4 separate regions of the Homo sapiens genome follow, and all the other regions are linked to region 1. Evidence: promoter capture Hi-C in 16 types of primary human blood cells and fetal thymus (Javierre and others, 2016). All regions are on one chromosome and are shown on one strand. The core of a region is centred on a gene start or on the middle of the fragment in contact, and the rest is flanking DNA. Distances in the headings are between cores, read along the strand shown. Region 1 holds the start of MRPL9 (mitochondrial ribosomal protein L9). Region 2 has its middle 4.6 kb from the start of POGZ. Region 3 has its middle 22 kb from the start of POGZ. Region 4 has its middle 9.1 kb from the start of CGN.

The links. Contacts are between HindIII fragments. The CHiCAGO score rates a contact against its expected background, and 5 or more counts as called.
Region 2: a contact is called between a fragment that was not itself captured here and the fragment with the promoter of MRPL9 in region 1, in 16 of 17 cell types (M1 macrophages, M0 macrophages, M2 macrophages and 13 more). The highest score is 15.0, in M1 macrophages.
Region 3: a fragment that was not itself captured here is called in contact with the fragment with the promoter of MRPL9 in region 1 in 1 of 17 cell types (M1 macrophages); the score reaches 5.8 in M1 macrophages.
Region 4: a fragment that was not itself captured here is called in contact with the fragment with the promoter of MRPL9 in region 1 in 3 of 17 cell types (M1 macrophages, neutrophils and M0 macrophages); the score reaches 7.4 in M1 macrophages.

The regions. Positions count from the first base shown.
Region 1 is chr1:151,761,065-151,767,917 of GRCh38, reverse strand. MRPL9 (mitochondrial ribosomal protein L9) reads left to right here and starts at 4,422. Exons shown (of 7, transcript NM_031420.4): 1 at 4,422-4,591; 2 at 4,772-4,928; 3 at 5,418-5,542; 4 at 5,763-5,813; 5 at 6,366-6,467. The coding sequence starts at 4,439. OAZ3 (ornithine decarboxylase antizyme 3) reads right to left here and starts at 1,263. Exons shown (of 5, transcript NM_016178.2): 1 at 1,030-1,263; 2 at 619-755. The coding sequence starts at 1,196. It also overlaps a transcript of TDRKH not described here. RefSeq lists an enhancer at 4,272-4,651. The HindIII fragment of the contact is 8,401 bases long and covers 168-6,853 here.
Region 2 is chr1:151,460,629-151,467,481 of GRCh38, reverse strand. No RefSeq gene overlaps it. Among named protein-coding and RNA genes, the nearest start is that of POGZ, 4.6 kb to the right of the region's middle. The HindIII fragment of the contact is 2,507 bases long and covers 3,143-5,649 here.
Region 3 is chr1:151,477,728-151,484,580 of GRCh38, reverse strand. No RefSeq gene overlaps it. Among named protein-coding and RNA genes, the nearest start is that of POGZ, 22 kb to the right of the region's middle. The HindIII fragment of the contact is 4,425 bases long and covers 293-4,717 here.
Region 4 is chr1:151,498,830-151,505,682 of GRCh38, reverse strand. No RefSeq gene overlaps it. Among named protein-coding and RNA genes, the nearest start is that of CGN, 9.1 kb to the left of the region's middle. RefSeq lists an enhancer at 1,292-1,792. The HindIII fragment of the contact is 2,715 bases long and covers 2,122-4,836 here.

The DNA of each region.
Region 1 (6,853 bases), core at 3,173-5,672:
CCTTAGTCCCAGGAACTAATAGCCTATGCCTATTGTGGAGTTCTCCTTTATATCAAACAATCCAGCTGAGGCAGTATTACTGCCTGTTGACTTCAACCCAGGAGTACAATAACCATTTAGGAACTTAGAAATGTTTACATCAGAGAGCTTAGGATTTAAACAAAGCTTTATAATGTGCTTCCTTTCTCACTAATAATTTCCACTTTTTTCATTATATGGGTTTTCTCTAAATTCTTCTATTTAAAATGCCATGGTTACAACCAGGCTTGTTATTGCAATATGATATGTGGGCAAGTTCTGGATTCCAGATCCTGCTTAGCATCTTTAAGCAGGATCTTGGCATAAACAGCTTTATGTCCCAGAAGTCCTACAGAGTTTGTTTTACCTTTGTCCCCACTCCCTCTTTTCCCAATCCTGATTTTCACTACCATCTGTATGACCTTGATTTTACAGTCTGTGGGCCAGAATGCTTGTCTATATAGCAAGTAGCTTTTACACATGCGTTCCAAGATTCCATCTACCTCTGTAATTCATCTTCCAACTTGCTAATGTCCCTCCTCTGCAAGGTATGCAAGAAAAGGGTTGCCCTGTCACAGCACTAGCTCACAGTCCACTTACCGAATACAGTTCTTTAAGCTGGTCGTGGTTACCCTGCTCGGTGCTTTTGCCCTCCTGGAGGCCTACTAGGGACTCAGGAGCACTGGAGGCAGGAACGGGGCTGGAGTGTCAAGTCCTCCTCTTCCTTATAAGTGATGCTGGTTGGGAAAGAGACCCAAATTAGTTTATCTTGGAATCTGAGGTGGGAAGATACACAGTACCAGGCTCTGGCATGATCTTCTGTATTTTCTGTTGTCCAGCCTGTTTCTATGTTCCTGGGCCCAACCAGATGGAAAAATTCTAAAGTTCCATGCCAGCTTTCCACCCCCTATTCTGTTGTTATTTCTTGCCATTTGGGAAATTCTTTCAAATTCTTTTACTTTTTCCTTACATTTTATATAAACAACTACAAATAGAGATGAAAACAAGTACCTTTTATAACAACGAGGCAGCATCTTCTCCCGGAGAGTGATCCGGTACTTGTAACAGTAAAGGTAATAGGCGTATGGTGACCAGATCGGGTAGAGGTAGTTACGTGTTTTTCCCCTCTTGATATAAGAAAGGGAGTAGACAGAGGGGCGACACCTCTTACAAGGCAGTTTTTCAGTTCAGTGCCTCCCTGTGGCAAAGTGAAGTTCACAGGTGGGTGGCAGAGGTTTAGGCAACCTGGTGGCATTGTGACCCAGTGGGCACTATGACATGGATAAGGGGTCAGCCCTTATGTCACCTCAGGACTCCACTCTGCTGCTTATCTACCCTAATCCCTTATCCAAGGCTCATATTCGACTAGTATGCATGTTATGGCTGTATGAATGATTAAAAAATAGAACTTGAAGACTTCTGTACTGGTTGGCCAAAAGCCCTGCCTGAGCACTTGTGCCCACCCACCCTGCTCCTCTGTGGACACTCCCCTTCCCCCAAAATCCAGCAAGTAAAGAGTTGGTATCTGACTCTTCCAAGGCTCTGATCCAGTGGTGACCTGATTAGTTGGTTCCCAGTTCATACCAGTTGAGTATTTTTATTATCATCCCTACCCTTAATAACCCAGGATCCTTGTAGGGTAGGAATTGCAAACTAATTGTCTAGGCCCCTTCAGGGGCCTAGACAGCTTATGGAAATTAGTGGAGTGGCAGGGTAGGGCTGTAGCAAAATAGGAAAGCTCACACGTTATCTAAAGGAAGTCCACACAACTCAATTCCATCCAGTTCCATGCAAGAATGCAGACTTGATGGTGCTGTATCGTATGATTTTTGAACAGAAACTGGAAAGACAGTTTTGTAGTAAATCTCACCAATTTTAAAAAATATCGACTACTGGGCCGGGCACGGTGGCTCACGTCTGTAATCCCAGCGCTTTGGGAGGCCGAGGCGGGCGGATCACGAGGTCAGGAGATCGAGACCATCCTGGCTAACACGATGAAACTCTGTCTGTACTAAAAATACAAAAAATTAGCCGGGCGTGGTGGCAGGCGCCTGTATTCCCAGCTACACGGGAGGCTGAGGCAGGAGAATGGCGTGAACCCAGGAGGCGGAGCTTGCAGTGAGCTGAGATCGTGCCACTGCACTCCAGCCTGGGCAACATAGCGAGACTCCAACTCAAAAAAAAAAAAAAATCAACTACTAAAAAATTGTTGATAAAAAAACAACATTGTAAGCAAAATTTGGTTCTGGGACTGCCACTTTGAGACCTCTGCATATTTATCCATTCAACAAATATTTATTGAGGGTCTACTATTAGCCAGGCACTATTCTAGGTGCTTGAGATGATACATCAGTGAACAAAACAAATCCCTGCCCTATGGAACGTATCTTCTAAAAGTGAGAGGACAAACCTAGAAAATAAACATAGTAAATTGTTTAGTATGTTAGAAGGTAACTGCTATGGGGTGGGGGGAATAGAGCAAGATAAAGGAAGATAAGGAATGTGAAGGGGATGGGTCAGGGTTACAGTAAGAAATAGGGTGATCTCTCACTGAAAAAAACTGACATTTAATTAAACACTTGGAGGATGTGAGGTTGTTAACCAAGCCAGCATCTGAGGATAAGAGCATCCAACGCAAAAGCAGCCAGTGCAAAAGCCCTGAGCAGGAAACGTGCCTGGTGTTTTCAAGAAACAAGGAGGCCACTGTGGGTGGAGCAGTGTAAATTAGAGAGGAGCTAATGGGGTCAGAGTATGTATGGCCTTGTAGACCATCTGATGGCCTTTTTCTTTTACCTTGAGTAAAGGAGGAAGTCATTACAAAGTTTTGGGTGGAAGAATGACATGATCTGACTTATGCTTTAAAAAGATCATTCTGGCTGCTATAAATAAGCTACATAGAATTATAAACTGTAGAGAATTAAGGGATATCTTTTAGGGGACTATTGCAGTAATCCAGGAGAAAGTAGTGTCTTATTCCAAGGTAGAGCATTGGAGGTGGTGACAAGTGGCTGGATTCTGGAAATACAAGTGCTCCTTGACTTAAAATAGGGTTATGTCCTGATAAACCCATCGTATGTTGAAAGTATCATAAGTTGAAAATGCATATAATACACCTACCAAACACCATAGCTTAGCCTAGCCTATCTTAAACATGCTCAGACAACTTATCCGACAGTTGGGTAAAATCATCTAACACAAAGCCTATTTTATAATAAAGTGTTGAATATTTCATGTAACTTATTGATGTCCTACTGAGTGCACATCACTTTCACACCATCACAAACTCAAAAATTGTAAATCCAAGTCAGGGACTATCTGTAATTTAAAGGTAGAACCCACAGGATTTCCTGATGGAGTATGAGAGAAAAGAGTTAGAATGGAAAGAATGGAGTTTCTGTCAACTGAGAGGAAAAAGGCTGCAGATGGGGCAGTTTTGGGGGCGAGGGGGGAATAAATAAATTAGTTTGGGACAGTTAACTTTGAGGTGTCCTTTGGATACGTAAGAGGAAAATGACGAATAAACAGTTGAATATTTGAGACGAGTTTGGGAGATGTCTAGGATGGAACTAGAAATTTGGGAGTCATTGGCTTATAAATGGTATTGTAAGCCACGAGACTGGATGAGATCAACAGTGAGTGTATACTGAGAAGAGTAAAGGTTCAAAAACGGAGTCCCGAGGGCATTCTAAGAAGCGGGGAGAAAAGGAGAAATCAGCAAACGAGACTGAAGAAGACCGGTGTCCAGGAGGCCAAGTAGTGTATTTAGGAGGAAGGAGGACTGGTCAGTATGTTTAAGGGCCAGTCTTTCCATAATCTCTGCCAAATGGACCTTCTTTCATCCAGTTTTTATGGTCTTCTGTCCAGTACTGAGACCCTCCCCAGAGGGAACTGTCGCGGCCTTACCATAGTTGCTTTTTTTTCTACGGTTTACATAGCTTGTGATTTAGAATTCTCCTTTATTAGCTTAAATACTGCAGTATAATGATTAAGGGTCAGGCTCCTCCTGGAGCTGGCAGAGTTTTCCAAGGGATCCCATCCTTTACCACTTTTAGGTAGATTTGAAGTAAGGAAAAGTGAGAGCATCATTCATTCTCCGGTCAGTATCCAGTCATCACAGAACGTTAGAATTAAAAGTTAGCCCAGCAACTGGAGCTACAGCAAAGCCCACACTTTCAAGAGGAAGAGCGTCTTTTCCGGCGTCAGTCCACCTAACACTCATTCCATTATCAGTCAGTAATTCTAGGCGTCCGTCACCTCTGCCAAAAAGCAAAAATAGGCAAGCCGCGGTGCCATCTGTTCCCCGGCCCGCTCCCCATACTTTCGCTCAGCCGTACCGGCGCGCCGCAGGCAGCACTGGCGGGGGCCTTTCCTGCCGCCGACGCCGGGGTCCTCCCTCAGGTCTCATTCTGTGCCTGTGAACATGGCGGCGCCCGTTGTCACGGCCCCGGGCAGAGCTCTGCTGCGGGCGGGCGCTGGACGGCTGCTTCGGGGAGGCGTCCAGGAGCTACTGCGGCCGCGACATGAAGGGAACGCCCCTGACCTGGCCTGCAACTTCAGCCTTTCTCAAAATCGGGTGAGGGCTGAGTCTGGGGTAGGGGGTAGATACGCTCGAGTATTGTTTCTGGAGGCGCACTGGGACCTGGAGGGGGCCGATGTGGGGGTGGCGGGCTTTCCTTGAGGGGCTGGCGGCCGTGGTGGAGGGAGAGGGTGTTCCTTGTGGAGACTAGCTTACCGTCGCTTTCCTGGCCGCCAGGGCACGGTCATCGTGGAGCGCTGGTGGAAGGTACCGCTGGCCGGGGAGGGCCGGAAGCCGCGCCTGCACCGGCGACATCGCGTCTATAAGCTGGTGGAGGACACGAAGCATCGGCCCAAAGAAAACCTGGAGCTCATCCTGACGCAGTCGGTGGAGAGTAAGGCCCGGGCCGAGGCGCTTCCTCTCAGGCTGGTCCGGTTTGGCATCAGCTTTTTCTAGCCCGTCCCCCTCAACTATTTGCCTTGCTTTTTCTTTGTGGAAACAATCCAACTCTATATGTGAGAAGAGGAAGCCATAAAAACTATTGTGATTGTGACACTGGCCTCCAGCATTGAAAATTAAAACATAAAGGCAGCAACATCATTAACAGTGTGTGGGGAGAGGAGCCTGACAATTTGTGCCACAGATACTGAAATCCTCCATGGGACGACAACTCCCTCTATACAGGGGATATTAAATTTATACATCAAGTTCTAAAGAAACTAATTAGCAGTCTCTTAAATCTTGTTCCTAGTGAATATGAATTAGCATTTCTTTTAGGAAAAATAAGCACTGTGAGAAACTAAGAGGTGCTTCTCTTTTTGACATCTTTTCTTTAGGGACTCCTAGATGGTTCTAATTCCCCTGTCTCTGTTCTAATTGACAGATGTTGGAGTCCGGGGTGACCTGGTCTCAGTGAAGAAATCTTTAGGCCGGAATCGACTCCTTCCTCAGGGACTGGCTGTATATGCATCCCCTGAAAACAAGAAGCTGTTTGAAGAGGAGAAATTGGTGAGCTCAAAGGAAGGACAGAGAGACTTGGGGAGATAAAACTTCTTTTCTCTTGCAGCTTCCTTCCCTTTGACATTTAACTTAACTTGAAAATGAAATAGGAACTAGAAGAACAGGAATGCAGAAGCCCAGCCAATGTCCAACATAGGAATAGTTTGATGCTATTTAACATGGGCTCATTTTTCTTTTACTGCTTTTCATCTTTAACTTTCTTTTCTAGCTGAGACAAGAAGGAAAATTAGAGAAGATCCAGACCAAGGCAGGTGAGGCGGTGAGTAGAAACATAAAAAGTGTTTATTTGTCACAAGACTTACCAACCTCACCCTGAGAGTCTCCCTGATTCCCTTGAGGTCTCCTGATTGCAGACCCAAGAGTGGGAGAAAGGGGAAGTGTTGTGGCTGCCCCACAAAACAGGTATGGAGACCTCTTGGGAGATCCCTGATGTGTTGGGTGAAGTGCCTTAAAGTACCAAGGGAGGTCCCAATCTGGGAATCAGGGAACCCATGGAATAGTCTGAGATGAGGGCTCTGCCTTCAAGGATATTTACGTACAAGTTGGAGAGAACATGGACACATGAGAAGATAATCAGTACAGGCACCCGCCACCATGCCCGGCTAACTGTTGTATTTTTGGTAGAGACAGGGTTTCGCCATGTTGGCCAGGCTGGTTTCAAACTCCTGGGCTGAAGTGACCCACTTTGGGAGACCCACCTTGGCCTCCCAAAGTGCTGGGATTACAGGCATGAGCCATCTTGCTTGGCTTGCATACCCTGTGACCCTGACATGTTTCCTCTCCTTTGACTCAAACTCATAATTCCTTTCAGACAGTGAAATTTCTAAAAAGCTGTCGCCTGGAGGTAGGGATGAAGAACAATGTCAAATGGGAGCTGAACCCTGAAATAGTTGCCCGCCACTTCTTTAAGAATGTGAGTGAGTGTTCCCAAAAACCACTCTACCCCTGAGGTGGAAGCTGCCTCTGGAAAGGAGGCCTGGGATTGATCCCTTTGTTAGGAAGGGGTGTGATCATCCAGTTGTAGTTAAGGAAAGTATTCTTGGTTAGTTTGCAGGAATATGGGAAGGAAATGGCTAAGGACTAAGGATGGTCACATAGAATTTGAAGACTGATAGGAAAAGGTGGTGGTTTCCATTTATTTCCTGTCTACCTAGGGAAATGCTGGGGATTTGTGACTCACTGGAGAATTGTTACTTTTGTGGATGAAGTGGTTTTGGCCTCAAGCCCTGTTTCTCTTTGTGAATCTACCTCCCTTTCTGAGAAATCAGAATTGAATTTCTCTACTACCGTCTATGAAGG
Region 2 (6,853 bases), core at 3,147-5,646, 300 kb after region 1:
CCCTGATACAGCTACAAGAGAGGCTGGGAAATGAGAGTACATGAATATTCAGTGAGCCACAGTCAATATAGTAAAGGCAGGCATCCCAGGAGAGCCACTATTCTTGCAAGGTTGGAGAATCAAAATAACCTCCTTAATGCCAATTATATCAACTCAACTGGCTGAAGTAACTAGACTATCTGATCATCTATGGGGTTCTAGAGGTTCCTGGACTTTCCTACATGTCGAAGAACATCTTGGGCAAAGATAAAGGAAGAAGTAAAATAATAATAATAATGGCCGGGTACAGTGGCTCACGCCTGTAATCCCAGCACTTTAGGAGGCCAAGGCGGGCGGATCATGAGGTCAGGGCTTCGAGACCAGCCTGGCCACTATGGTGAAACCCCGTCTCTACTAAAAATACAAAAATTAGCCAGGTGTGGTGGCACGCGGGTGTAGTCCCAGCTACTCAGGAGGCTGAGGCAGAAAAATTGCCTGAACCCAGGAGGCGGAGGTTGCAGTGAGCTGAGATCGTACCACTGCACTCCAACCTGGGTAACACAGTGAGACTCCATCTCAAAAATAATAATAATAACAGTAATATAGTAATAGTAATATAATAATAGTAAGCCACATGTTAGAGTGAGAAGAAACTCTAGTTCTTTGGGCACATATGTTCATATAGGATTATTGAGAAATGTATCATTTCTCTAGGAAGATAGGGAATGAAGCATAACTTTTTTTTTTTTTTTTTTTCTCGAGACAGAGTCTTGCTCTGTCACCCAGGGAGGAGCGCAGTGGCACAATCTCAGCTCACTGCAACCTTCGCCTCCCATGCTTCAGCCTCAGGAGTAGCTGGAATTACAGACCTGCACCCCCATGCCCGGCTAATTTTTGTATTTTTAGTAGAGATGGGATTTCGCCATATTGGCCACGCTAGTCTTGAACTCCTGACCTCAAGTGATCCACCCACCTTGGCCTCCCAAAGTGCTGGGATTACAGGTGTGATCCACCATGACTGGCCAGAAGCATCTTGTCCACTGGGGTTCATGAACAAGCCCAGAAACAGGATTCAAGTCTGAAAGTGCTTGCAAAATGTTGTGTATATGTACAAATGTGCATTTTTCTGGGGGAGATAATTCATAGCTTTTATAGAGATTTTTGAGGGGGTCATGATGCAGAAAAGTTTAAGACTCACTTTTCTAGGCTAGGAATAAGATCTCTGAATAGGAGAAACAGAGATCAGAGCCTGCCAGGAAGCAAGGTTCGTAGGAAAGAGAAAACTCTTATTCACACCTGATGCACAGCACTTATACACACAGCTACATTTATGTGAAAGCTGAGAAATAAGAATTATTTCCTGAATGAATGAAAGTTAAATCATTTTCCTCCTATAAAATGATTTTAAACTGGTGAATCGTGGCACTCTCACGTTGTCAGATTTTATTACCTCTATGTTTCAGGTAACAGAAAAGTCATTAAAAATGGATGATCTTTTGCTGTCATGGGAGATGGCCCCTTTGCCACCTCTAACTCCTATTGTACATATTCAGTAATAAGAGAAGACCCAAACGGACCTGACCACTTATCTACACCAGAAACCTTTAAAAAATTTAATCCTGGCCAACATGGTGAAACCCTAGCTCTACTAAAAATACAAAAATTAGCCAGGCATGGTGGCGGGCACCTGTAATCCCAGCTACTCGGGAGGCCGAGGCAGCAGAATCACTTGAACTGGGGAGACGGAGGCTGCAGTGACCCGAGATTGCACCACTGCACTCCAGCCTGGGCAACAAAGCAAGACTCTGCCTGAAAAAAAAAAATTAATTCTGAATGATACCTCAGTCTTCTCATCTGTAAAACAATGATATTAATCATCATGTCCTTCAAAAATATGAATTGGAAAAGCTATTTACTGTCCACAGTTGCATTCTGAAAATTATGCATGACTATAATAAAATATAAACACTGCTAAATTTAAAAAGAATGTATGCTAGAGGAAAAGGAATTTTTACTACATTTTACTCTGCAATCCATTATCAGGAACAAGTCATATATCAAGCATACCTATAAAATAGTCCAATTTATTTTGTCATGAAGCTTTATGGAGTCAATTTAATTACTTGATAATCATACCTGGTCAACTCCATAGCAACAACCTAGATTAGACAAGTATAGCTTTGCTTCTGGGTATCTCTTTAAAATATTAATTTAATTCGAAGTTAAACTACATCATTACCTCCTAGGAAACCATGCAGCAACTCACAGTGAGCTCTTGATGATGATAACACTGCTGCTCATGCATTTCTTATGAAATATATTTTGAAGACAGAGATCTTAATTGCTTCTTACTGAAAGCTAATGGGAATTCTTCCTTTAGAAACCCAGGCTGAGAACTTCCTCAGGCTTTTTCTCACCTCCTGTGTCTCTAGGAAAGTCCCCAACTCTTCTAAACATAAGAAGGTAGCAAATAATATTCCTAAATAAAATCCGGCCACAGCTGTTAACTTCCCCATTTTTTAATTTGACATTGGTCAAATGTAGATCTCCACTTGCCCTTTATTTCATGGCAATTTGCCTGTCAAGTTAAGCACCTCAATGTTTTCCTTCCACCACACATGCTGACTTATACACATGCTGAATCCCAGGCTCAGTGCAATCAGCTATCCATCTTTTCCACCTGGGAGCTGCTCAGATGGTAAAAATGTCTCTACTGTTTTTCTCTTACGTTTTCTGAAATGAGTAGCTCTCTTTGAGGTTCCAGCTTTGACAATCCTGAGTGTGCATTACAGAGAGTGGGATACCCATTTCTTTCTTTCTTTTTTTTTTTTTTTTTTGAGACGAAGTCTCACACTGTGGCCCGGGATGCTATGCAGTGGCGTGATCTCGGCTTGCTGCAGCCTTCGCTTCCCAGGTTCAAGCAATTCTCCTGTCTCAGCCTCCCAGGTAGCTGGGATTACAGGCATGCACTACCACACCCGGCTAATTTTTTGTATTTTTAGTAGAGACGGGGTTTCACTATTTTGGTCAGGCTGGTCTGAAACTCCTGACCTTGTGATCTGCCCACCTCCGCCTCCCAAAGTGTTGGGATTACAGGCGTGAGCCATCGTGTTCGGCTGTTACCCATTTCTTAAAGAAATCTGGCATTATCTCCCACGAAGCTTATTTCTGCCTGGACTAACCTCACCATCTGAGCCTCCCTACTCCCCGCCCAAACACATACCAGTCAACCTCACGCTGAACCTGAACAATAAGTGATTAGGTCTGCATTTTAGCAAAATGATGCCACCGAGGGCATCCATGACTCAATGCTTTTGAAGACATGCTGAAATCATTTGTCTCTCTTCTTTAACATTCTCCAAGCTACAGGTGGTTCCAATTTTCTTTTGTATGTTTTGTTGTTGTTGTTTGTTTGTTTGTTTTTTGATGGAGTTTCACTCTTCTTGCCCAGGCTGGAGTGCAATGGTGCAATCCTGGCTCGGTGCAATCCTGGCTCACTGCAGCCTCCACCTCCTGGGTTCAAGTGATTCTCCTGCTTCAGCCTCCCAAATAGCTGAGATTACAGGCGCGTTCCACCACGCCTGGCTAATTTTTTGTATTTTTAGTAGAGATGGGGTTTCACCATCTCTACTAAAGACCTTTGGCCAGGCTGGTCTTGAACTCCAGACCTCAGGTGATCTGCCTGCCTTGGCCTCCCAAAGTGCTGGGATTACAGGCATGAGCCACCGTGCCCAGCCCCAATTTTCAACTTGTGGCAGAAACCGTAAGTCAAGGAAGCAAGTAAGTATTTCCATAAACTGTAGAAAAGAAACACTCTCCAGCTATGTAACTGAAAAGCTCAGCTTGGGACATCCATTAACCTTTGACTTTCTTTCTTAGAAAAAGTTTCTAAGTTGGCTACTGAAGACTGGAATAATTTTTAGGAGTACCACTATTAGGATCAAATTTCTTCAACATATCAGACTGGATTGGCTTTCAGATTCCTCCCCAGTATGTTACAGAGGCACATACGAGTTGATTTCTAAGGATCTGATTCAGGTTATTTGTTCTACTACTTGGGTTTCCCATCATCATCAAGATGGTTCAAACCATTATCCAGATGGTCCAAAAGAGAGACCAAAGCTATCAGTTCTGTTACTTCACTCTGGAAACCTGTGTTTTAGCTGAAGAAGCAAAATGTTCCAACACTGTCCAAATTAATATGAGCATTCTCTCTTTAGCACAAGGAATACGTTTCTGGAAATAGCAGTGTTAACTGTATAGTCTCTTTTGAAGTGCTGCACCAGTGTTGTAATGTAAGGTGGCAGAGTTTCCTTGAAATCTTCTGAAGGTATAAAATGTCTTTGCTCATCATTTCCTTTTTTTTTTTTTTTCTTTGAGATGGAGTCTCACTCTGTCACCCAGGCTGGAGTGATGTGGTGTGATCTCGGCTCACTGCAACCTCCACCTCCCGGGTTCAAGCGATTCTCCTGCCTCAGCCTCCTGAGTAGCTAGGACTACAGGCATGTGCCACCACGCCTGGCTAATTTTTGTATTTTTAGTAGAGATGGGGTTTCACCATGTTGGCCAGGCTGGTCTCAAACTCCTGATCTTGTAATCCACCCACCTCGGCCTCCCAAAGTGCTGGGATTACAGGCATGAGCCACCACACCTGGCCAGGATACCTTTTACAACGTCAAAAGACACTCCATTCCCTAATTGCCTGTTGATCTTTACCCTCTGTTTCCTCACCCATTTCCTCAAAGGTGCCTCCAGATCCTGCAAAACTCCCACTTTTACATTTAGCATGATAGACTTTCTGTATTCTTGGTGGCAGGCATAGCACCATCACTCATTTTATTGGGCATTATGGGTCAAAACTGTCTCCCAGGGCACAAACTAAATGACAGAAAAATAGAGAGGAGTAAGTAACACACCACAGAACTCAATCACCTGAAGCAGCAGCTTCACAACTCCCATCCTGGTCCAAGCTACCATCAACTCTCACCTGGATTATTGCAATAGCCTTCTATCTGGTCTCCCTGCATCTGCCCTTGCCTCTATTAGTTATTCTTCACAAGCAGCCACAGTGATCCTTTAAAAACGTGAGTCAGGCCGTGTCACTACTTGCTTTATGATCCTCCAGCAGCTTCATTTTCACTACAGGTAAAACCTAAACTTTGCTTCACTTTCTTCAGGTCTTTGCCCAAATGTCACCTTAACAAGGACTTCTCCAATCACCCCACATAAAATAGCAAATTCTCCACCCCCATGTCTGCACCACACTCCTAATTCCCCTATCCTGCCCTTTACCCTTCATAGCACCTATCACCATTTCATATAATCCATATTTATTTACATAATGTATATCAGATTGCATTTTCCAAGATGGCCACAAGATTTCCCTTTCCGCACACTTTCTTACAATGTGACATTTCCACTATTCCCGTTGAGAGATGGGGATCTATGCTCTCCATCCTGTAACTGTAATGGAAGTAACACTATATGACCTCTGAGACTAGGTCACGATCTCTGTCTGGTCCTTTTGGGGCACTCAGTCTTGGAACTCAGCCACTATGATATGAGGAAGCCCAGGCTACATGGAGAAGCCACTTGTAAATGGTCTGCCAACAACCCCAGCTGCGGTCCAAGCCAACAGTCAACCTCAACTTCCAGACATGTAAGGAAGCTTTTGAGATTACTTCAGCCCTAGCCACTGCATACGAGACTCCCAAGTGAGAACTGTTTAGCTGAGCCTAATTACCTCCCAGAACCATGAGAGGTAATGAAATTGTTGTTTTAAGCCACTAAGTTCGGGGTCATTTGTTATTTAACAATAGACAATAGAACAATTTGTTTATGTGTATATTTTATGTCTCTTTCCTTCTAGAGTATAAATCCCACAGATTCAGGTATTTGTTGTTGTTGTTGCTGCTGTATTCCCAGCACCTAAAACAGTGCCTAGTACATGTGCTCAATAATTTTTTTTTTTTTTTTGAGACAGGATCTTGCTCTGTCCCTCCCAGGCTAGAGTGCAAGTAGTGTCATCATAGCTCACTGCAGTCTCAAACTCCTGGCCTCAAGTGATCCTCCCAAGTCTTCCAAGTATCTAGGAATACCACAACCAGCTAATGAAAAAAATTTTTTGGGGCCAGGCACGGTGGCTCACGCCTGTAATCCCAGCGCTTTGGGAGGCGGAGGCGGGCAGATCACGAGGTCAGGAGTTCGAGACCAGCCTGCTTGGTGAAACCCCGTCTCTACTAAAAACAGAAAAAATTAGCCAGGCATCGTGGCGCACGCCTGTAGTCCCAGCTACTCAGGAGGCTGAGGCAGGAGAATTGCACCCAGCAGGCGGAGGTTGCAGTGAGCCGAGATCGCGCCACTTCACTCCAGCCTGGGGGAGAGAGCGAGACTCTGTTTAAAAAAAAAAAATTTTTTTTTGTAGAGATGGGATGTTGCTAAGTTGCCCAGGCTGCCCTCAGACTGCTGTGATCCTCCTCCCTTGGCCTTCCAAAGTGTTGGGATTACAGGTGTTAGCCACCATGCCCAGCCCCCAATAAATATTCATTGAATGAATGAATGGATGCATGATCCATTTTCAATAAAGCATGCTAACAGTTACTGGTCAACGGTATATGGCATAGTCTGCGCTAGATCTCATTGGCTGGGAGAATAAATTGACAGGGCATGGGGAAATATGTTGGAATTTTTCAAAGGTTAATAACGTAATATACATAATGTAAATATAACATATATAATGAATTATACTAATTACACGACAGTATAAAATAGGATTTGAGTTTCATGTAGTCTTTTGGTGATTGATCCCATAATCCTAATATGGGCTTCTCCAGATCAGGTCTGGAAAGTCTTCAGAAGTATTTTCAGAAGGATT
Region 3 (6,853 bases), core at 1,256-3,755, 280 kb after region 1:
ACTTTTAGACTATCAGGAGAGTAGAGACTTTCTTTCTTGTCTATCCCCTGACAATAAAAGGTTTGAGAAAGGCTGGCGCAGTGGCTCATGCCTGTAATCTCAGCACTTTGGGAGGCCAAGATGGGCCCAAACTCCTGGGCCCAAGTGATCCTCCCGCCTTAGCCTCCCAAAGTGCTGGGATTACAGGCATGATCCACTGTGCCCAGCCTAGAGATAGCTATTCTTTACCCAACAATTATGATGCTTGTGGAGGAAGGGGTGCTTCACCAAACAAAGGAGAATCAAGAAAGCTTTCACAAATGAAGAAACATTAAATGGAGAGCTAAAAGACTAGTGGGAATAAATCCAGTGAGGACTCACAAGTCCAAAGCAAGGAAGCATGGCAGTGCATGGAGTGCTAAGGGGGTGGTGAGGAGGTCTGCAAGACTAGGGCATGGGATGCCAATGGCACAGTGGGGAGGCGAGGCCTAGGAGGTGGCAAGGGACTAGATTGTGAATGGTCTTACAGGCTTTCTATGACAAAAGTTTAACTCAATCCTGTAAGTGATATGGAACTATTGAAGAGTAACATGGTGAGAGTCACAGGCTACATGGAGGTGGATGATGTGAAGTTAACGGTAGGGTCCCCTGTTATGAGGCTACTTTGATGCTTAAGTAGGAAATGGTAAACTAAGGCATGGTGGGGAGGATAGAAAGAAAAGCCAGAATGTGAGAGAAATGAGCACAGTAAATACAGACAACATTTGTCCTCCTGGCTTTTGCAGCCAAAGCCTTCTGGACGGTAACTAATACCAGCAGCTGGCAATCTTCTCCAGGCTGGATGAAAGTAGCATGGATATACCTCCTGCAGCTCAACCTCCCCTTGGGCACTTAGTCCTCTCTCTTCCATTTCACACATTATGCTGTGCTTGTGAGTGTGCAACCTAAGCATGCCAGAGACTTCTAGCGTTCACCAAGTTCTGTGTTCTTCTCTTTTCCCATTGCATATAGCTAGATCACATTTCCAGTTTCTGCTACAGTTAGATGTGACCATGAGATTGAGTTCTAGCAGAACAAATATGAAGGAATGTAACATATACTAGTGCTTCTCAAACCGTATGTGGTGAGGAACAAGATTTTTTTCCTTGTAATGCATTATGGGCCAACATTTTTGTAAAATACGCAAAAATTAGTTACTAGAACTACAAAATAAAATAAAATAAAATAAAGACATTAAAAAACAAAGCCCAAATTGCTTTTTCAATTTTTTTTTTTTTTTTTTTTTTTTAGACAGGGTCTTGCTCTGTCACCCAGGCTGGAGTGTAGTGGTGTGATCTCAGCTTACTGCAACCTCTGCCTCCCAGGCTTAAGCCTCTGGAGTAGCTGGGACTATAGGCATGTGCCACCATGCCTGGCTGATTTTTTTTTTTTTTTTTTTTTTGAGACAGAGTCTCGCTTTGTCACTCAGGTTGGAGTGCAATGGTGTGATCTTGGCTCATTGTTTTGTTTTTTTTTTTTTTTTTGAGACGGAGTTTCACTCTGTCACCCAGCCTGGAGTGCAGTGGCACGATCTCGGCTCACTGCAACCTCCACCCTCCGGGTTCAAATGATTCTCCTTCCTCAGCCTCCTGAGTGGCTGGGACTACAGACGCCTGCCACTGCGCCCAGCTAATTTTTTGTATTTTTTTTTAGTAGAGATGGGGGTTTCACCATCTTGGCCAGGCTGGTCTTGAACTTCTGACCTCGTGATCCGCCCGCCTCGGCCTCCCAAAGTGCTGGGATTACAGGCGTGAGCCACTGCGCCTGGCCGATCTTGACTCATCGTAACCTCTGCTTCCCGTGTTCAAGCCATTCTCCTGCCTCACCCTCCCAAGTAGCTGGGATTACAGGTGCTTGCCACCATGCCCGGCTAATTTTTGTATTTTTAGTAGAGACTGGGTTTCACCATGTTGGTCAGGCTGGTCTCTAACTTCCTGAACTCAAGCAATGCACCCGCCTCAGCCTCCCAAAGTGCTGGGATTACAGGCATGAACCACCGCGCCTGGACAGAGCCACCGCGCCCGGTCAGAGCCACCGCGCCCAGCCAAAATGTTTATATTTTTTGTAGAGATGGGGTTTTGCCATGTTGTCCAGGCTGGTCTTGAACTCCTGAGCTCAGGTGATCTGCCCTCCTTGGCCTCCCAACGTGCTAGGATTACAAGCATGAGCCACTGCACCCAACCAAGAATTTTTAGTGAAGAATTTCTGAAATTGAGACTTTGGTAGAAGAGAAATCAAGGTAGCAGGGCCCTGTCCCACTAGCCAGATGGCTTTGGTGACCAAGAAGATCTAAACTCCTGATAGTCATCTCCTATCGAGTAGTAGCAGGATACTTAGCAGTGTTGGGGTTAAACCTTCCTTGCCTTCAAGTTTGTTCTCTCCAATGTTAGCAGGCTCAACTTAGTCTTCAGTGATTTGAAATAGCATCTCTGACATCCTTTTTCAGAAACAGTAATGGGGGAAATATTTTGGACCAAGCTGAGGTACTGTCCATAGGAAAGTAAAAAATTTTTTCAGACTAAGGCAGGCCTGAATCAATTTCTTTTTTTTTTTTTTTTTTTTTTGCCCACTCCCCTTTTTTTTCTTTTTAAAGTCAGGGTCTCACCATGTTTCTCAGGCTGGCCTTGAATTCCTGGACTTAAGCAATCCTCTTGCCTCGGCCTCCCAAAGTGTTGGGATTACAGGTGTGACCCACCATGCCCATCCAATTAACTACTTTTAAATAAAATTGTAAAATGATGCTGAATTAGATAGAAACAATGTTGAAAATCCTATAATTTAGAACAGTAAAAAGTGTCTTTTGATTATCTGACTTTTTTTTTTTTTTGAGAAAGAGTCTCATTCTGTTACCCAGGCTGGAGTGCAGTGGTGCAATCTTGGCTCACTGCAACCTCCGCATCCTGGATTCAAAAGATTCTCCTGCTTTAGTCTCCCGAGTAGCTGGGATTACAGGTGCTTGTCACCATGCCCAGCTAATTTTTGTATTTTTAATAGAGACGCGGTTTTCACCATGTTGGCCAGGTTGGTCTCAAACTCCTGACCTTAGGTGATCTGCCCACCTCAGCCTCCCAAAGTGCTGGGATTACAAGCATGAGCCACCACACCTAGTCAAGATTACCTGACTTTTTAAGCTGAATGATGAAGAATCATAAACAGAGAAAAAGAAAAAAGGAAATTTAATTGACTTTTTACATTACCATAGGGAAAAAAATTACCCTGTTTACAGAGTTGGTCCTGTGGCCAGATCATATTTAAGGGAAGAGTGAGTTATTTATTTATTTATTTATTTGAGTTGGAGTCACACTCTGTCGCCCAGGCTGGAGTGCAATGATGCAATCTCGGCTCACTGCAACCTCCACCTCCGAGGTTCAAGCAATTCTCCTGCCTCAGCCTCCCGAGTAGCTGGGATTACAGGCACCCACCACCACGCCTGGCTAGTTTTTGTATTTTTAGGAGAGACAGGCTTTCACCATATTGGCCAGGCTGGTCTCTTGGCCAGGCTGGTCTCAAACTCCTGACCTTGTGATTTACCCACCTCAGCCTCCCAAAGTGCTGGGATTATAGGCATGAGCCACCATGCCCGGCGGGAAGAGTTATTTAATATAATGTTCTCTTAGTCCCTGCTTTCCAAGTTGTACTTAATTTCCAGGCCCCTTCCAAGAAAAAGGTGATGAATTTTGGGTAGGGTGGTTGCCCTCATCTCTTAAAATTGTCAATGCTGTTCTCTGTGCTGCTCCTGTCTTTTCCTCTGATTGCACTGTTTGTTAACACAGTTTGAAACATTTCATCTATCATCTTTGCCTCATTTCTGGGGGTTCTGAATCAGAGTTTTTTAGTGCTGGTTCCTGAGAACTAAAGGTCTTTTAAATTCTTGTTGTCTTCTTAATATCAGGGCATCTATTTCCTTTGTCATAAAAACTTTATGACCCTTTACCAATGGTGAGTTCAATTTTTTTTCCTTATATTCTTACAGTCCAAAGGCAGTGAGTTCAGTTTTTTTATATTTTTTTAAAATATAAAATGTTAATTATAAAAAAAAAAGAAAATTAAGCCATATATATAAAGTCTCACTCTGTCACCCAGGCTGGAGTGCAGTGGCATGATCTCAGCTCACTGCAACCTCCACCTCCTGGGTTCACTGTCTCAGCCTCTTGAGTAGCTGGGATTACAGGTGGCTACCACCATGCCCAGCTAATTTTTGTAATTTTAGTAGAGACGAGGTTTCACCATGTTGGCCAAGCTGGTCTCGAACTCCTGGCCTCAAGTGATCTGCCTTCCTCGGCCTCCTAAAGTGCTGGGATTACAGGCATGAGCCACCGCACCCAGCCCCAATTTTTAAATTTTAGATTCAACAGATAATTACTGTATCAAAATTGCTATAAAACTTTTTTTTTTTTTGAGGCGAAGTTTTGATATTGTTGCCCAGGCTGGAGTACAGTGGAGTGATCTTGGCTCACTGCAACCTGCGTCTCCTGGGTTCAAAGCGATTCTCCTGCCTCAGCCTCCTGAGTACCTGGTACTATAGGCGCACACCACCATGCCCGGCTAATTTTGTATTTTTAGTAGAGACGGGGTTTCACCATGTTGGCCAGGCTGGTCTTGAACTCCTGACCTCAAGTGATCCGCCTGCCTCGGCCTCCCAAAGTGCTGGGATTACAGGCATGAGCCACCGCGCCTGGCCCCAGATTGCTATAAAGCTTTCTAAAGGTTTACTTTCCATTTCTATTCTTATATTGTCAAGTACCAGTAACAAACTATTTGCAAACCAACACCAATCTGTGGAGCCCATTTCGACGGATATACCCTACTTCTAGGCCCATAAAATTTTCCCACATATGCTCTTCCATGCCTTTTGCATGGCAGGCCTTCATATCCTGAATTCCTGAAATAGCTGTATGGAGGAGAAGTGCCCTGCCACCCAAAGGGCAAGAAATAAATGTCTATTGTATCTGAGTCATTATTCTTTTTTCTTTTTTTAGAAACAGAGTCTTGCTCTGTCACCTAGACTGGAGTGCAGTGGCGCGATCTCAGCTCACTGTAACCTCAACCTCCTGGGTTCAAGTGATTCTCCTGCCTCAGTTTCCCGAGTAGCTGGGATTACAGGTGCCAGCCACCATGCCAGCTATTTTTTTTGGATTTTTAGTAGAGATGGGGGTTTCACCATACTGGCCAGGCTGTTCTCAAACTCCTGACCTCAAGTGATCCTCCCACCTTGGCTTCCCAAAGTGCTGGGATTACAGGCGTGAGCCACCACACCTGGGCAAGCCATTATTCTTATTTGGGTCTATGTGTTATAGCAATTAGTCTATCCTAACTAATATAACATGCTGCTACTGTTTCTTTCACAAGAGTAATTCTATTCAGAAAGAGCTCAGTAAATCTCTGAAGTGAGAGATTAAGAACAAGCTGTTGGAATGGAATGTGGTAAACAGGCTCTGGATGTTCACAGAGCAATGGTCAAAGCTAGGAAAAATGTTTCAGCGTGGGTGGCACCTTAATACTAAAGTGTTTCTGTAGTTGGTTTAAGTCTACAGAGTCTCATTTCAAGATAAGACTTCATTTGGGAAAACATTGGAAGGCTTCTCTTAGATTAAAATGGTATAGAAGAAGATGTATATGGAGCTGTCTTGTATGCAGTATCTGCTCAACAAATGTTAGTGGATTCTGAATGTGAACGCCCAAGCCTTACCGGAGGGAGGCCCTCCTTTGGGCCAGACCTGGGATGGGGGGGCGGGGGGGGTCTTTTTTCCACAGAGACATATTTTCTAGGCTAAAATCCTCCCTCATTTGTTTTGTATTGGTGCTACTGTGCCTTGGCAGCAAGAAGTCCTTCTTGAATTGTAACTTCCTTTCTTCCTTCTGTAATTTCAGGATGTCTCCTTGCTTTCAGTGGAGGTAGGAGTGCTGGCACCTGGCAGAGTTGTCTATGTCAGAGACAGAAACAGAAAGATGAGTACACAGAGGGTCATAAATCCACCTTCTCAGAACTAGAAGGAAACAGCCCATATGGCTAGATTGGCTGTTCTTTCAAGGAAGAGAACTGGTCCTCCAAAGGAAATGTGTTAAGTTAAGGAAACTGCCTGCTCTCAGCACTCCAAAAATTTATTTAATTAGGTATTTCATTTATTTATTGACCTCCACAAACACTGAATAATTAACTTGCCTCACTGCTCTACTGCCAGGAGGCAGAAATTTGCCTAAGAGAGGAAGGGCTGTGGCGAGAGCCTGGGTTCTTCTGACTTGTTTCAAATCACCACCACATGACCCTTTCTAAGTGACTGCACCATTTTCTCCCTATAAAATGTGAAGGGGATTGCTTTCCTCCTTCTGGGAAACTATATGCATTTTTCTAAAGAAGCTCTCCAACCTACAAAAAAAATTAACTGAAGACCATGCTGAAGTAAAAAGCATCTTAATTTAATCCTGATAAAAGGTCAAGTTTTTTGTTTGTTTGTTTGTTTGTTTGTTTGTTTGTTTGTTTTTGACAGAGTCTCACTCTGTCACTCAGGCTGGAGTGCAGTGGTGTGATCTTGGCTCACTGCAACCTCTGCCTCCCAGGTTCAAGTGATTCTCCTGCCTCAGCCTCCTCAGTAGCTGGGACTACAGGTGTGCACCACCACACCTGGCTAATTTTTGTATTTTTAGTGGAAACGGGTTTTCACCACGTTAGCCAGGCCAGTCTGGTCTTGAACTCCTGACCTCAAGTGATCCACCCACCTTGGCCTCCCAAAATGCTGGAATTATAGGTGTGACCCACCACACCTGGCCAAGCTCTTTTTATTATTTTTATTTTTATTTATGTATTTATTTATTTTGAAACGGAGTCTCGCTCTTG
Region 4 (6,853 bases), core at 2,230-4,729, 260 kb after region 1:
CGCTTGAACCCGGGAGGCAGAGGTTGCTGTGAGCTGACATCGCTCCATTGCACCATTGCACTCCAGCCTGGGTGACAAAGAGAAAAGAAAAGAAATGTGGGCTTTCACAGTATTCTAGCCTGAGCAACAGAGCTACACTATGTTTCTTTAAGAAAAAAAAAAAAGAAAGAAGTAAAAAGAAATGTGGGCTTTATTGGTAGGTAATGGAGAGCTATTAAATGTTCTTGAGCAGGAAAGAGGCAGTACTTCAGAAAGTCTCTATGATAAATGCAATGGTAAGGCTTGATTGAGGTAAACCCTAAAAACCACAGTGGTGGCCGGGCGCAGTGGTTCACATCTGTAACCCCAGCCCTTTGGGAGGCTGAGGCAGGCAGATTACCTGAGGTCAGGAGTTCAACAACATGGTGGCCTGGCCAACATGGTGAAACCCCGTCTCTACTAAAAATACAAAAAATAGCTGGGCATGGTGGTGGGCGCCTGTAATCCCAGCTACTCGGGAGGCTGAGGCAGGAGAATCGTTTGAACCCAGGAGGCGGAGGTTGCAGTGAGCCAAGGTCGTGCCATTGCACTCCAGCCTGGGCAACAGGGCAAGACTCTGTCTCAAAAAAAAAAAAAAAAACCACAGTGGTGGCAAAAGGAGGGAAAAGCAAGGACCACTCACCCTGATGCTCTTTTAGCGTATTACTCATCATTTCTCTCTTGAGCTTTGTTTACAAATACTTTGCTCTTCAACAGCAATAATAATATGTAATTATACTAACACTTGGGGCTTTTCCTGGCTAAGTACAATTTCTATTCTGGTTAGGGAAGATAAGAAATGGTCACTGCATATACTCACTTTATATACATGTCCAATCTTTGAGTACAGGACTTCCAAGAGTCCCCAAAAGATATTTCATTCTTTGTGACCCATGTCGTCCACTCTTTTCTCAGTTTGACTAGGGAGGCAGAGCTACAGAGATTTCATGAATGGACATCACTGAGGTAGCGTACCAAGTCAGGAGTCAAGATATCTGTATTCTAATTTTACTTCTGGGAAAGCTGTACTCCTAGCCAAGTCTTCAAAATATTTGGGGCTCTGTTTTCTCTGAGAATTATGAAGATGATCCCAGATTTCATAACTGTATTGTTTCCTTTGGGTTTCTTGAAGAGGAAAAAGTCATGTTCTGCCTCCCACCTCTTCCTTTTGTTATCAGCTAGGAACGTGAGTAAGTGTAGCCAAATCTAGTACATAAAGGATAATTGTTTGGGACAAAGCATTCCAAGCAACTTTTTTCAGTTTAATCAGAGTCACTCCCCGACAAGGGAAAGACTCATTTCCAAGTTCCTTGTATCTCACCACACCCTGTAGCCCCTATTGTCCTAGCTGCGCATCTCTAACTCTCTGAGCAGCTAAATTCCAGTAAGTTCAAAGTCTCTAGTATATATTCATTTTTTTGTTTGTTTTTTAAATAGTAGAAATGGGGTTTCCCTATGTTGGCCAGGCTGCTCCTGAACTCCTGGGATCAAGCAATCCACCCACCTTGGCCTCCCAAGATGCTGGAATTACAGGCGTGAGCCATAGCACCTGGCCTTCAGTCTACATTCAAAATAAGAATATCATTTAAAAGGAAAAAAAAAAAAAGAGCAAGACAGGCCATATATTTCCAATTCCCAGGCCAGGCATGGTGGCTCAAGCCTGTAATCCTAGCACTTTGGGAGGCTGAGGCAGGTGGATCACCTGAAGTCAGGAGTTCGAGACCAGCCTGGCCAACATGGTGAAATCTCGTCTCTACTAAAAATAAAGAAAAAAAATTAGCTGGGCATGGTGGCATGTGCCTGTAATCCCAGCTACTTGGGAGGCTGAGGCACGAGAATCGCTTGAATCCGGGAGGCAGAGGTTGCTGTGAGCCGAGATCGCACCACTGCACTCCAGCCTGGTCAACAGAGCAAGACACCATCTCAAAAAACAACAACAAAAAAAGAAATTAAAAGGAACAGATTCCTTCGTGTAATTCTTTTTCTGGGTTGTTAAAACGCCATTCTGAGGAGAGAGCCAGTTTTCCTCCACACACCCAAACAACAGCTGATTCTACTTCCCATCTCGCTTTCCTCCTCTCATCAATGAAGGGGACAGAAGCTTGGCAGCTCAAACCTATACACACATCCCGCAAGCCCTGAGACTCCTCCAGTTCTCTCACAGTCCACTGTGGCAAAGAGTTTTAGCAGAATCCCATTAATTGCTGATTTGCTCAGGTTTTTTATCTGAATCTTTTTCAAAGTATAAGTCTCATAATACAGAGGCAAAATGACATATGGAAATAGCACTGAACTCCAAGACAAAAATACCTGATGTGGCAGCCATGACATCCCTTAGAAAGAATCTGCCATTCAACTGCCAGAAAGCAATTCACTGTCAGCCCACAGCTGCATCACCTTTGGGATCCACTACCATGTCAGAGCTAAGGCCACACTCTTCCTGAACAGCCCCAAGCCAATGACTGACAGTGTGGTTACTGGGACCTGGCCGTTTCTGCCCACTGTTGATTTCTCTATGTGATAACCTTTGCCCTGGTGCTTTCCACTGGGTAGACTGCCACTTGGAAGGATCTGCACCACAGCTTGAGGTTTTTCTTGCCCGATTTTGCTTCTGCCTTCCTTTACTTTATCAGGATAGGGAAGCCTATCCAAAGTCTTTCTCTGCCCATTCCTGCCTCCTTCTTTATCTTTCACAGGTGTTGCCAGCCAGTAAGCCTCTTGCACTCCTAACTTTGTCTCAGTATCTGCTCCCCAGACCACCTGAACTGACTCAGGTGACCACTCCAGAAGTGGTCTGAAAAAGCGAGCAGTAAGATAGGTTTAGGGAACTGCAGTACTCACTGCCTGGCTGGCAACAAGAACCCCTCCTGGATGTTGTGGGGTACAGGTAGTCTCTGGAACAAGATGGTAGCCAAGTTGCTAAATTTTCACTGATGTGAAATGAGAGAATGCTCCTGTGGTGGAACAGTTCAGGCATAGGGGGTAGGCGGAGGGACAGCAGTGAGTATAGGGACAATGGAATTGGCTGGCTGTTATTAAGTTGCACTGGGCCCTGCCAGGAGAAAATGAAAAGCTGAGAGTAGTTAACAAACGTTGGAAATTAACTGTGAAGGTCAGAGGGCCTTTCTGATGGCTTACAAAGAGGCCCTTATCTATAGCAGTGAGAGAGCAAAAAAATCTGAAGACCAAACTCGAGGACTTCAATAGAGCTCCCAGAGGCAGATCTGCAATCAAGGTCAGGACTCTGCTTGGGAAAACCTGGGACCCTAATACGTGGAATAGAAATATCTGGGCAGGTCCCCCCAAAGATTCTGGCTTTCTGCACTCCTCTGAACCCTCAGAGCCTTAAGACACTGCAGAGGCCTCTCCCCTCCCATGATCTCCTGACTGTGAAGATCTTAATCTTAAACTCTCATGGGTTAAATTACAGCATAGTCTGGTAGCTAAGGACATACTAGGCCTAATAAGGAAAGAAAGGGACTATAACCCAAAGTATCCTGCAAGAACTGGCCAACGTTTAGTGGTAAGAGTAGGGAAGTACCCATGGGATTGGATTTTGACAGTGCTTAATCAAGGGGATGAAATATAAAAGTGGATTAAGGGCAAGTTTTTTAACTTGGGGACCACTTTCTTGGGATAGAATATAACTTCCTGGCCGGGCACCGTGGCTCACACCTGTAATCCTAGCACTTTGGGAGGCCGAGGTGGGCGGACCACCTGAGGTCGGGAGTTCGAGACCAGCCTGACTCACATGGAGAAACCCCGTCTCTACTAAAAGTACAAAATTAGCCAGGTGTGGTGGCGCATGCCTGTAATCCCAGCTACTCAGGAGGCTGAGGCAGGAGAATTGCTTGAACCCGGGAGGCGGAGGTTGCGGTGAGCCAAGATCGTGCCATTGCAGTCCAACCTGAGCAACGAGAATGAAACTCCGTCTCAAAAAAAATAAAAATAAAAAGGAATTTAACTTCCTGGTAAGGACCTGCCCCTAGTGGCTCCTAGGAGCATGGAGGAAATGATAATGGTTGCTGAGTGAAGGTCAAATGTCTGTATTGCCAGAGCAACTGGGGGAAGAAAAGATTAAATGGCTCAGCAAAACGGGCATGATAGAGTGAATTCTAAGAATGCTCCATAGAAGGCCCGGAGGAATCCCTTTTTTTTTGAGATGGAGTCTCGCTCTGTCACCCAGGTTGGAGTGCAGTGGTGCAATCTCAGCTCACTGTAACCTCTGCCTCCCGCGTTCAAGTGATTCTCCTGCTTCACCCTCCCCAGTAGCTGGGATTACATACGCCACCACGCCCGGCTAATTTTTGTATTATTATTATTATTATTTTTGAGATGGAGTCTCGCTCTGTCACCCAGGCTGGAGTGTAGTGGCGCCATCTTGGCTCACTGCAACCTCCGCCTCCCAGGTTCAAGCAATTCTCCTGTCTCAGCCTCCCGAGTAGCTAGGACTACAGGCGCATGCCACCACGCCCGGCTAATTTTTTTTTTTTTGTATTTTTAGTAGAGACAGGGTTTCACTGTGTTAGCCAGGATGGTCTCGATCTCCTGACCTCATGATCCACCTGTCTCAGCCTCCCAAAGTGCTGGGATTACAGGCATGAGCCACCGCGCCCGGCCTAATTTTGTATTTTTAGTAGAGACAGGGTTTCACCATGTTTGCCAGGCTGGACTCAAACTCCTGACCTCAGGTGATCTGCCTGCCTTGGCCTTCAAAGTGCTGGGATTACAGGTGTGAGCCACTGCACCAGCCAGGAATCCCATTTACCAAGGCCATCAAAAATGTGCTGGTGAAAGTGCCAGCATCACACAGAAGCTTAGTTGTGGCTTTCTTCTACAAGCCAGTGCTAACAGGAGGAGACACTGTCACAAGCTTGGCTCTGTTATAGTGACAAGGATGATGGGTGTACTGAGGTAGTAGAGGCTGGTGGCAGCACTTAATTGCCAGAAGCCGTGGGATGGGGGTTACAAGTATCAGAGAGACTGGCAAGGGGCTTGACATGAAGAGTTGTATCGATGGTTAATAAAACATGCTATCCTTAGGGGGCAAAATGGATGTGCAGTCAAAACAAGGATATTGCTGAAGATGTGTAATTAACAGAGAGCAAGAATGGATGAGCAGGAACCTGAGGATGGAGCTCTCAGTTAAAAAGCATGCTCCTTTGTCTGGTTCCAGAACCTAAGTCAGTTTTCAGACCCAAAACTCATTGACTATAGAGGTACACTGGTCCCCAAAGACTGGCAACACCATGGTAATTATATACTATAATGATTCCCCAGTCCTTCCAAAAGGGGACTTGTAAGTATTTATTCAGGTGACTGTGCACAGATGACTGTTGGGCACAGGATCTGAACTGACATTGAAACATAGTCCCAAAGTGTCATCTTCACTCCCCTATTGGAGTGGGAGCTTATAAGAGCTGGATAAAAGAGTACTAGCCAAAGTCCAGCTTACAGTGGATCCACCCCATCTAGTCAGAAGCAATCTAGACTGTTCAGACATCCTGCAGAACATCACTTTGATCCATTATATCAATGACATCATGCCTGTCAGTCAGGATGAGCAAGAGTAGCTAGCATACTAGAGGCTTTGGTAAGACACATGTCCTCCAGATCATGGAAGAGATCCCTAAGATTCAGAGGATGATCACCTCAGTCGGTGTTTTAGGAGTTTGGTGTTTAAGGGACATGCCAGGACATCCTTTCTAAAGTAAAAGACAAATTGCTGCATCTTGCATCCCCTACCACAAAGACGGAATCGAAGTACCTGGCAGGTCTCTTCAGGTTCTGAAGGCAACACTTTCCACACTAGAAACACTGCTTAGACTCATATACTAGGTGGCACGAAAGACTGCCTGCTCTGAGTGACATCTGGAGCAGAAAAAGTATAGCCCCACTTATCATCGCTCTCAGTAACCCACTGAGGGACTTTATGCTTCCTATTCTGCAGCTCTGGGCTCCGCATGGTGAGACATTCTGATCCCCAAAGGGCCATACTCTTCCAGGAAAGGTCACATTAAGTTACATGGTATGGCTACCACTTGTGCACTTTGAACTCCTTGTATTCAGGAATCACCAAGTAAGAAGAGAAATTATCATTATCATATTGCCAGTGTAATTGACCCTGATCAGGGAAGAGGTGGGGCTGCTGTTTTACAATTGGGGCAGGGAAGAATATGTGTGGTGACTCACTTGGGCATTTCTTTCTTCTTTTTTTTTTTTTAGATGGAGTTTCACTCTTGTTGCCCAGACCGGAGTGCAATGGCGCCATTTGGCTCACTGCAACCTCCGCCTCCCAGGTTCAAGTGATTCTCCTGCCTCAGCCTCCCAAATAGCTGGGATTACGGGCATGCGCCACTACACCCTGCTAATTTTTTGTATTTAGTAGAGATGGGGTTTCACCATGTTGGTCAGGCTGGTCTCGAACTCCTGACCTCAGGTCATCCGTCCGCCTCAGCCTCTCAAAGGGCTGAGATTACAGGCATGCGCCACTGCGACTTGGGCATTTCTTGGTACTCCTTTGCTTAGTTATGACTATGAATGATAAATGCAGCAACCCTGGCCTGAGAAAGGGGCCTCAGACCCCTGAGGAATTAGGGTTTGGGCCACAGCATCAGTAAGCCACTGAGACTAGTAGAAGTGATAGCTGAGGGCAAGAGGGATTTAGAGTAGAAGAAGGAAACAATGAGTACCTGTTGCACCTCCAAGAACAACTGCAGCAATGGGGGCTGTATATTATTCCACTAATCACGCTCATCTAAGTTTTTCACAGGAAGAGAAGCCCTGCCCAATTATGTCTGGAGAAGTGAATCCACATGATACAAAGGGTAGACTG